Regions from separate parts of the Homo sapiens genome. Here region 1 is linked to region 2. The links are contacts of gene promoters, found by promoter capture Hi-C in blood cells and fetal thymus (Javierre and others, 2016). All regions are on one chromosome and are shown on one strand. The core of a region is centred on a gene start or on the middle of the fragment in contact, and the rest is flanking DNA. Distances in the headings are between cores, read along the strand shown. Region 1 overlaps CCNJL (cyclin J like). Region 2 holds the start of C1QTNF2 (C1q and TNF related 2).

Region 1 (4,874 bases), core at 1-2,500, 120 kb after region 2:
ATTCTACAAATTCCAGCCTTCTGTGGTCGCTGCGGCCTGTGTTGGGGCCTCCAGGATTTGCCTGCAGCTTTCTCCCTACTGGACCAGAGACCTGCAGAGGATCTCAAGCTATTCCCTGGAGCACCTCAGCACGTGTATTGAAATCCTGCTGGTGTAAGTTTCTCCCCTGAATCCTGTGTTTCTGAAATAGTGAGGTTCCTCTTGCCTTGAGGCCTGCCTCAGGCCACGGGCAGTTTCCAGAGTCTGGAACTTGTGGTGGTTCTTCCAGCTACAGGGTCTCAGGGAAAGTGGGCCATGGTGACTCCTGGTAGAAGTGGGGTTTCGAGAACCAGTTCTTCCTATTTTGAATAGCTTCAGGTTTGCTTTTTATTTTATTTTATTTTTTTTTTGAGACAGAGTCTCGCTCTGTCACCCAGGCTGGAGTGCAATGGCACGATCTCGGCTCACTGCAACCTCCGCCTCCCGGGTTCAAGCGATTCTCCTGCCTCAGCCTCCTAAGTAGCTGAGATTACAGGTGCGCGCCACCACGCTTGGCTAATTTTTGTATTTTTAGTAGAGACGGGGTTTCACCATGTTGGTCAGGCTGGTCTTGAACTCCTGACCTCATGATCCACCCACCTCAGCTTCCCAAAGTGCTGGGATTACAGGTGTGAGCCACTGCGCCCGACCGGGTTTACATCTTTAAAGTCAGGCAGCAAGGGAGAAGCGGGCTGTTTGCACCTTTAAATGTCTAGGCTATTTGATCTAAGTCCCAGTGTAATCTTATAGATAATCGCATTGAAGGACTTCCATTATAAGCTACTTTTCTCAGACATGGTCACAAAGCTGACCTCTTAGCCAGTAAGCTCCCCTAAGCGCCACAGCCTCTGCAAGGGTCCCTGGGAATCTTGGGGAGGAAATGTTCAGTGTGTCAGAGAAGATACTTAAAGGCATCATGAGCCCAACACCCTGAAACTGACACTGGAGGTAAATGTGCCCCATAGTTACTGCAGGGAGCAAGGCAAACAGGACAGAGCCATTCCCAGTAGGCACACACTGTCCAGTTCCCCTTCCACCTGCCAGGCACTGCGTATCCTGGGTGCTGGCCTGACTGACTGGTGGGCTGTGTGGGCAAAGCGGAAGCCCTTAGACCCCTGAAGAGAGCCCTCCCCGATGTGGGAAGCTTTGCTGGCAGCTGTCTTTATCTCATTCCTCTGAAAAGTCAGTCCTACTCCGTAGGCCTTATTTTAAAATTTGTGTTTTTGAGAAGGTCCCCAAAGCCTGGTCTGAGTGTCGGTGCATGCCTTACATAAGCCTCTAATTGTTTTGTTTTCCCAAAAAGCTATATGGGAAGCTTTTTTTGAGATGGCAAAAATCTCTGTTCCAGCCCCCTTTTCAGATGAAAAATCCTAGGCCCCAGCGGTCAATTTGGTTGATATCAGCTAGCTAAGGAGTGACCCCGCTGGGGATGGAGCTGGCCCAGAATTGCCTGGAAAGCAGAGATTGGGCTCATTCAGGCCCCAGGAACACTCCAGTGCCAGGGGATGGGAAGGCATTGGTGAGCACAAGCAGGCGCCATCCTCCTGGAAGCCAGGTAACTAGAAGTTACCCTCTGGAGCAGGTTACTCTCTGGGGTATTGACTGTGGAGATAGGGCAGCATGGGGCTGTGGGGACAGCCAGCCTAGTCTGGAGGGGCCAGAAGAAATTTTCTGTAGGAAGCAGATCCAAGCTGAGAGCCAAGGCCTGAATCTAGTTTGTGAACAGCTGGAGCGGTGCCACACACAGTGAGCACAGCCAGGTAAGGCCTGGTGGACACAGGACACACGCATCTCTTCCAGTCCCACTTAGCAAGACAGGTAGAGACACACACAGGCATCTGGTGGCTTTTGGCCTCCAGTTCTCACCCAGGTCTTCTCGTTTCAGAGTGTATGACAACGTCCTCAAGGATGCCGTAGCCGTCAAGAGCCAGGCCTTGGCAATGGTGCCCGGCACACCCCCCACCCCCACTCAAGTGCTGTTCCAGCCACCAGCCTACCCGGCCCTCGGCCAGCCAGCGACCACCCTGGCACAGTTCCAGACCCCCGTGCAGGACCTATGCTTGGCCTATCGGGACTCCTTGCAGGCCCACCGTTCAGGGAGCCTGCTCTCGGGGAGTACAGGCTCATCCCTCCACACCCCGTACCAACCGCTGCAGCCCTTGGATATGTGTCCCGTGCCCGTCCCTGCATCCCTTAGCATGCATATGGCCATTGCAGCTGAGCCCAGGCACTGCCTCGCCACCACCTATGGAAGCAGCTACTTCAGTGGGAGCCACATGTTCCCCACCGGCTGCTTTGACAGATAGGCCACCTCCAGACCTCACGAGGAAGCCTTGGAGATGTGGGCAGAGGAAGAGGACACTGAAGAGGAGAGCTCAGCCAAGTGAGGCAGCAGGAGGCCATCCCTGAAGAGCCTTGGAACGTGGAGGGTCTGTGCTCCTTTTAAATAAAACTGACCCAGAGCAAAACATTCAATAACATACCTCACCCGAGAGCATTCCTCTGAGAAACGTCTGCCACGTGTGGCTAGGGTACAAAAGGATGGCTTGGTGGCCGTCCCCCCACACAGGGGCCCAGTGAATCGAGAAAGACTTGATAAGAGGCCAGGAGAGTGGGAACTGGACACAGACCACTGATCTCAAGCATGTCCAGTTTTTAGCATTAAAGACTTTTCTATTCTTTGCTGATGGCAGCTACACCGCTGAAAAAGGAGGGGCAGCCTGGCGTGTTCTCAGGACCCCCGGAGGATCCCATATTGGGTGCTTTTCTTTCCCTGGCTCTATGCAGAGGGGCCTGAGTTGGTGTGTATGCCTGAGTGTTTGCCTTGCGAGGCACAGTGGGTGGCTGTCTTGCCTTTGTTTTCGAACCTAAAACCATTTTCAGCCTTTTAGATATGTCATGTGCTGCTGCTTCCCGAAGTGGTCTTGCTTTCTGTTTCGTAAGATGTCTTGTTTACACACTGTATCAGGGATTTGGTGATACTTGAAAATTCCTTTGGAGAAAAAAACAAATTTAATTGCCACACTGCCTGTCCCACATGAGGGCTGTTAATTTGGAACCCAAGTTTGAACCCAACTTGTGATGGACCCGCAGGTAACCACAGAGCTTCCTTTTTGAAGGCATATGGTTGGAGAGAACCATTTTCCCAGCTCTCGGTTCCGGAAGATTCCACGTCTTGGAGGCTGTGTTCACCACTAGAACTTTAATAACTACCCAGGGAGGGAGAAGCTCGTTGAAAGGAAGACAAAGATTTAAACAGTTCCCACCTCTCTCCACCACATACTTACAGGGCATGAGTTTAACCCAGTCTAGGCTTTGAGTGTGGCTGATAGCGAAGGATAGCAATGTGGAAAATTTGCTTAGTCCCACCTGTATTTGGGGAGTGGGATGTACATGGGCGTTTGATACCACCATTGATAGGCAAGCGACTGGTTGGATCAAAAGCCAGTATTTAGGGATCTGCAGCGAGAGGGCCCTCAGGAAGACTCTTGTAACCATGTGCAATATGTTTTTATTCTGACTCGCAGCTTGTGCTCAGCATGTTCTTTGGTTTAGTTTGGGGTTGGGGGACACATTGTTCACCCAGCAGAACTGGGAGGTGCAAAGGACCGTGGAAGCAATTTTTGTTTTGTTTGAGGAATACCTGTCTTGGATTCCTTAGCCCCTTGCCAGTCCTGGAGACTGTGGCAGGGGCCGCCAGGAAGGCAGCTGTCTGCTGCTGAGTCAGATCGGAAGGTGGTGAATCTTTCCAGAGCAGCTGAAAATCTCAGCATGGAGACAGTAAGAAAAGAGACGGGGTGTGGATAAGACTCTGCCACCGTGTCACACTAGCATAGGAGGCTGCACGTTCATTTGTTGTTGTTTTTTTTTCCTTTGCCAACCTCCGTTCTATTTATGTGCAAGCAGTTTGGATTCAAGTTCTTGTATCTGTCTGTTCTGGGACCTGGGGATTGTGAGGGTTCCCTCACAGCCAGCACGACCCCCAGAAAGAGGCGTCCCACAATAAACACGTCACCTGCTCTTGATCTCTCACCTCTTGTCCTAGGCATCCCCTCTTGGGCCGGCCCCTCCTTCCCTCTCTCAAATCAGCCCTGGTGAGCATCTCCCTATGGTAGAGGGTGGAATATTGGGGGCAGCAGCAAGACCTCGGGAGCTGAGTCCTGCCCTCTGAGTAGGAGCTGGGCCTCCCTGGGCACACAGAGGCCAGCGGAGGGGTGTATAAGGCTTGACACCCCAGCTCCATCACCGTCTCAGGGTTTTTCCAAAGAAACCAGTAGGATATATATGGAGAGAGATTTATTTTAAGGAATTGGCTCATGTGATTGCAGAGGCTGTGGTCTAAAATTTGTGGGGCATGTCAGCAGGCTGGAAATTCAGGTAAGAGCTGATGTTGCAGTAGAGTTCAAAATCTGTAGGGCAGGCCCACAGGCTGGAAACTCAGGCATGATTTCTGTGTTAGCAGTCGTGAGGCAAAATTTATTCTCCAGGAAACCTCAATCTTTGCTCTTACGACCTTTTACCAGTTGGATGAGGCCCACCCACATTATGGAGGCTTTTCTTAAAGTCAACTGATTGTAAATGTTAATCACATCTAAAAATACCTTGACAGCAACATCTAGACTAGTACCTAGCCACACAACAGGCACTGTAGCCTAGCCAAGCTGCCACATAAACTTAATGATCACACCACTTACCAGCTGTTGGAAGGCAGTTGACCCAACCTCTCTCTGAGCCTCCATCTTGTCACCTGTTAAAATGGGAGTGATAACACCTTGCCTCATAGGGTTCTTAAGAGGATTAAATAACATAATGTACATCAAGGCCAGTACCTCCAAAAAAGGAGATAATTATTATAT
Region 2 (5,018 bases), core at 2,296-4,795:
AGAGATCATCTAGACTTTTCAATCAAAGTAGGTTATCTCACAGACTTCATACCGTTATTCTTTCCCATGTTTCCCTCTTATTTTCACCACAATTTTGAATTATATGTTTATTTGGTTGCTGGTTTCACATCTGTCTCATAAGGAGAGACCTTCCTTATTCATTCATCACTGTGAGCTCAACATCAAGCAGAGTGCCTGGTGCATTGTAGTTGCTGATATTTAATCAATGATTAATCTGAAGGTTGATGGGAGGATTGAAATGGGGTTGAGCATAGGAGGTGGATAGAAAGAGGAAAGAAGGCAGTCCTCTAGATTTCTTCTCTGCTTGTTCTGATCCACACTCATCTCCTTTCCCTGACTTTCACAGCACCTATAGTTCATAACATGACATGTCAGTTAGGATTTTAAGCAGACATGAATTTAATAAAAAGAATCAAATAGACTCAGAACCATTGCAGAACAAGTTCTGGCTTGGGCTTGCAGGAATGAGTCCCAAAACCTGCCGTCGTACTAACCCCACCACCCCAAGGGATGTGGCCTTCTGCCACAATCAGGAGGCCGGCGACTGGCCTAGTCTGACTACAAGAACACAACATCTTAGGTGTAATCTGGGGATCAGGAACTGGCAGAACTCTAGAGTCACACTGCATCTTCCAGGTCACCACCAGCAAAGTGGATTCCTCCCAGGCTGCTACCTCCTCTTCACATAACTGTTTTTGTTTTTTGTTTTTCTGAACACAATTTTGAATTCAGGTCTTTCCCAGGTGCACAGGACTGGCTAAACCTAAATTATAATGGGAGCCCCAACAGCAAGGAGTCTAGGAAATGGATTTTTAGCTTTCTAGTCTCTGTTGTATAGGAAAGCACACCAAGAAAAGTTTGGACAATTGTGGAACAAGCCAATCTGCCACATCTGCCTCATGGCTGCCCCGCTCTGTGGCCATCAATGTCATAATATCATTCGTCTTCTCTAGGTGGATACTAGCATGTTCTCTAGATGTGAATGGATGTGAAATGAATTGAATGAAATCGAAGGGGAAAATCCTCCTCTTTCATGTTCACACTTTGCACCTTTCCTATGGCACTTAATTGTATTTTGCCTCCTGGTGTAATTTGTGTTCTCATTCAGAAGTTCATCTCTTTGTCCCCATACTCATAATAGGTAATAAATGTTTATAGACTGTGGCCGGGTGCAATGGCTCACGCCTGTAATCCCAGCACTTTGGGAGGCCGAGGCAGTTGGATGACATGAGGCCAGGATTTCAAAACCAGCCTGAGCAAAATAGTGAAGCCCCATCTCTACTAAAAGTACAAAAATTAGCCTAGTGTGGTGTTGCGCGCCTGTGGTCCCAGCTACTTGGCAGGCTGAGACGGGAGAATCGTTTGAACCCGGGAGGTGGAGATTGCAGTGAGCTGAGATTGTGCCACTGCACTCCAGCCTAGGCAACAGAGCAAGACTCCATCTTAAACAAACAAACAAACAAATGTTCGTAGACTGAATTCAAGCAGAGAGTAAAGACAGAGAGAGGCTAGGGAGAGGAAGTTCTAAGCCCCATTCTAGCTTGACACAGTTCCTGCAGCTCGTGGAACTGCCACCGGACAAGTATTTTGGATTGCATGCTACATGAAGCCATCACCACTGCAAGGAACCATAGGACAGGGACCCAGGAACTCTGCTAGGCTTCAGGAAACCTAGGTTCCAGGTATCCTTCAAAAGTTGGAAAAACATGTGCCCCCATTCATTCAATCAGTAGTGTTTATTAAATGTTTCACACTACCAGGTATAGCAGCACTGCCTTTCTTAACTTTTCATTAACCTTTTTTTTTTAACCAATGAGAGCATGCCAGTGATTTCAACCTCTGTCATGATGGAGCCACATGGATAACACACAGATATTACCACTCTACTCTAGGAGAGGGGCTTTCCTGAGCCCTTTAGATTCTGAATGGCCTCCAGGCATTCTAAGCAGTTTCCTCACCTTTCCAATTGCTGACACATCTGACCCAAGAGGCGGTGGATGGAAGTTTCCTTTCCAGCCATCTGTGTATCAACACCCTAAACTCCACTCCACATGTTATCATTCCTTCATTTTTTGAGCTCACACTTCCCCTACATTCAGACAAGTCTCAGTCATCTCTCAGGGTTCACCTGAAACATCAGTTTCCCAGGCCTTCCCCTGACTGCCCAGTTTATACTTTAAGCTTTTCTTTTCTATAACACTCATTTCACTTGTAACCACTTGTGTCATCCCCAGCTGGAGGACTCTAAGTTTCATGAGGGTAGGCATCAAGCCTATTTGTTTCCCTCTATGTCCCCAGCACCTTGCTTGGGGACTGACACACAATGGATGCTTATTAAATATTTGTTGAATGAATGTTTGTTAAGCCTACAAACTTTCTTTCTCAAATAGTATTTATGTGATATTAGTAATAATTCCCTACATAGTTCAATGGCTTACCAAACATCTTTATGAGTTAGTGTCCCAACTTTGGGGTAAAGGCAGTGCAGGTAATATTATTCTCCCATTTTTTTTAGAAAATAAAACACCATCTGTGAGATTATCTGACTTGATTAAGGTGGTGGATACAACATTAGAATTCAAATGCATATCTGTATTAAAATTCTGACTGTAAATTTTGTGTCACTTACCAGCTGTTAACCAGATGCTCTGGCTGTGCAGAGTGAAATATGGGTAGCTAGTGGAAGAGAGCAGTGGAAGGAACAGGGAGAAGCAAAAGCCAGGCCTTGGAGGATTTCCTTTCCTCCAGTGCCTGCTTGATTCCCAAATAGGATTGCTTTGCCTATCCTGGGAGCTGAGACCCTCCATAAGTCTCTCAATGACTTGAGGCTGGGCCAGAGTGAGTGAGACCAGTGAATCCTCACCTTCTGGGGAGAAGAGAAATGAGAGCTGGTACACAGGGGAACTCACCCACACTAGTGTGTATGTGCACACTCACATCCGGACAAAATCCACACCAAGGCATGCATAGAAATCAACACATAGAATGAGCCACTGCACAGTCATACACACATTTAAACATACACCCCACATACAGATGTCAAACCAACACACAGAATGAGCCCCTGCACAGTCACACACACATTTAAACATGCACCCCACATACAGATGTCTAGCCACTATCGTGTACATCCAACCACTGATGTGCCCTCCAGTTTTACACCAAGCTGCCATCTTGGACATGTGCATGCATGTGTACATACACCGAACAGCCCTGATGAAAATTTGGATAAACGCACGTACGCACACACACAACTAAACACATCCCTATGATTTATCATCACACTCAAGTACATGCACACCTTTGCAAACGCGTGGGAAACAATCACTCTGATCACTCTGGCGCACAAAACCTCCAAATACGCTAACAAGCTCTACAAACGCAGAGATGCATCGACACACCCGAGTTGTCATCAGCACTGCAAGTTTTTTCCAAACAGCTGCTAAAAAGAGAATGCTGCGCTGCGGGCCAGCCCACGTGACCGGGAGGAAGGCTCTCCCGCCCATGACGGGATGGGAAAACTATGCCTGGGGCCGACGCTCTGCCCGGCTGCTGCCGCTGAGGAAAGCCGGGACGCGGAGCCCCGCCGAGAGCTTCTTTGCTCCGGACGCCCCTGGACGTGGCGGGCAGCCGCGAGGGTGAGTGTCCCGCACCGCGGTCGGGCGGGGGCGGCAAGTGCGCGCGGGGAGGAGGAGGAGGAGGACTCGCACTGCTGCGGGCGGGGCGGGATGCGGAAGGTGGGAGAGCTGCCAGCGCGCCTTTATTGCGGGCTGGGCAGCTCCTGCATTCCTGCCTCTCGACTTCTACCTTCGTATTATAATACAAATTAACATGTTTTGAGTCCTTACTGTGTGCCAGGCTCTGTGCCCAGTGGTTTACCCGTTACAATAGTAACACCCGTAGCTCTGCCATTTATTGAGCGCCTACTTTGTGCCAAGTCCTGCTAGCACTTTACTTGTGCTCTTTCATTTTCATGACAACAGATTATCCCCGTCTACAAAAGAGGAACTGGGCTCAGAGACATTAATGACTTGGACAGGGTTGCACAGCTAGTAATTGATAAAAAAGGGACTTGAAGTCTGGTAAATCTGAGTCCAATACCCGAGCTAACAATCACAGTTAACATTTACTGAATGCATTATTTCACTTAACCTTCACATTTATTTAAATATATGATACAGACTGGCAAACTGAGCTCAAAAGGTATTGAACGGCAGGCAGAGATTTGTACTCAATGCCTCATGACTCTCTTCACTCTCCTTCCCCACCTAAACTACTTGTCTTAATATGCTTTGTCCTTATTTCTCCATCCCCACTGCTGCTGCCCCATTCTAGGACCTCGCTTTTCAGCTAAATAATTGCAGTGGGCCCTAATAGTCTCCCAGCCCAGGTCTCTCCTCTGACACCATGAGTCCCTTGCATTACCTCATTGTGATCCTCCTCTGCTCCTTGACCACAAAATTGCCCTGCTTGGAAGCCTGCAGAGGTCCCTTCCTTAGACTGGCCATCTCTCAGAGACCCTGTGTTTCCACCATGCTGAAGTAGCAGTAATAGAAAGACAATGTCTTACATAGGTCAATCCAAGGCTGGTGCTCAGTTAGCACTGTTAAAAATCTGTCCTCTCACATCCTTATTTTTGCCCTCCCTCTGCACCATTCTCTAATTTATTCTGTCATCTGGAGTAATTATATCAATTACTCCTGCTTTCAACTGCCCGATCCTCAAACTCTCCACACATTTCCAAGCATCACTACAGCCCTTCATTGTAACACATCAGATTCACTGCAGAATTTGTTTCCTCCCAAATGTCTGACTTCTCCCCATCTCCTAGCAGGGATACCACACTTACCAGTCTTCCAATCCTTAAACCTTAGGTTTACCTTTTGTTTTAAATGTTATAAAAGTAACGACGCTCATCACAAGAAATTCGAACAGTTCAAAAAGGTAGAAAGAGAAAAGTAAAAGCCCACACACCCCCTCCCAATTCTGAAAGGTAA

Evidence for each region. Contacts are between HindIII fragments. The CHiCAGO score rates a contact against its expected background, and 5 or more counts as called.
Region 1: a fragment that was not itself captured here is called in contact with the fragment with the promoter of C1QTNF2 in region 2 in 3 of 17 cell types (neutrophils, M1 macrophages and M2 macrophages); the score reaches 6.5 in neutrophils.

The regions. Positions count from the first base shown.
Region 1 is chr5:160,250,828-160,255,701 of GRCh38, reverse strand. It overlaps CCNJL (cyclin J like), which reads left to right. Exons shown (of 6, transcript NM_001308173.3): 5 at 1-153; 6 at 1,904-4,874. The coding sequence ends at 2,324. Among named protein-coding and RNA genes, the nearest start is that of FABP6, 24 kb to the right of the region's middle. The HindIII fragment of the contact is 171 bases long and covers 1,165-1,335 here.
Region 2 is chr5:160,369,153-160,374,170 of GRCh38, reverse strand. It overlaps C1QTNF2 (C1q and TNF related 2), which reads left to right and starts at 3,545. Exons shown (of 3, transcript NM_031908.6): 1 at 3,545-3,659. The HindIII fragment of the contact is 8,188 bases long and covers 2,205-5,018 here.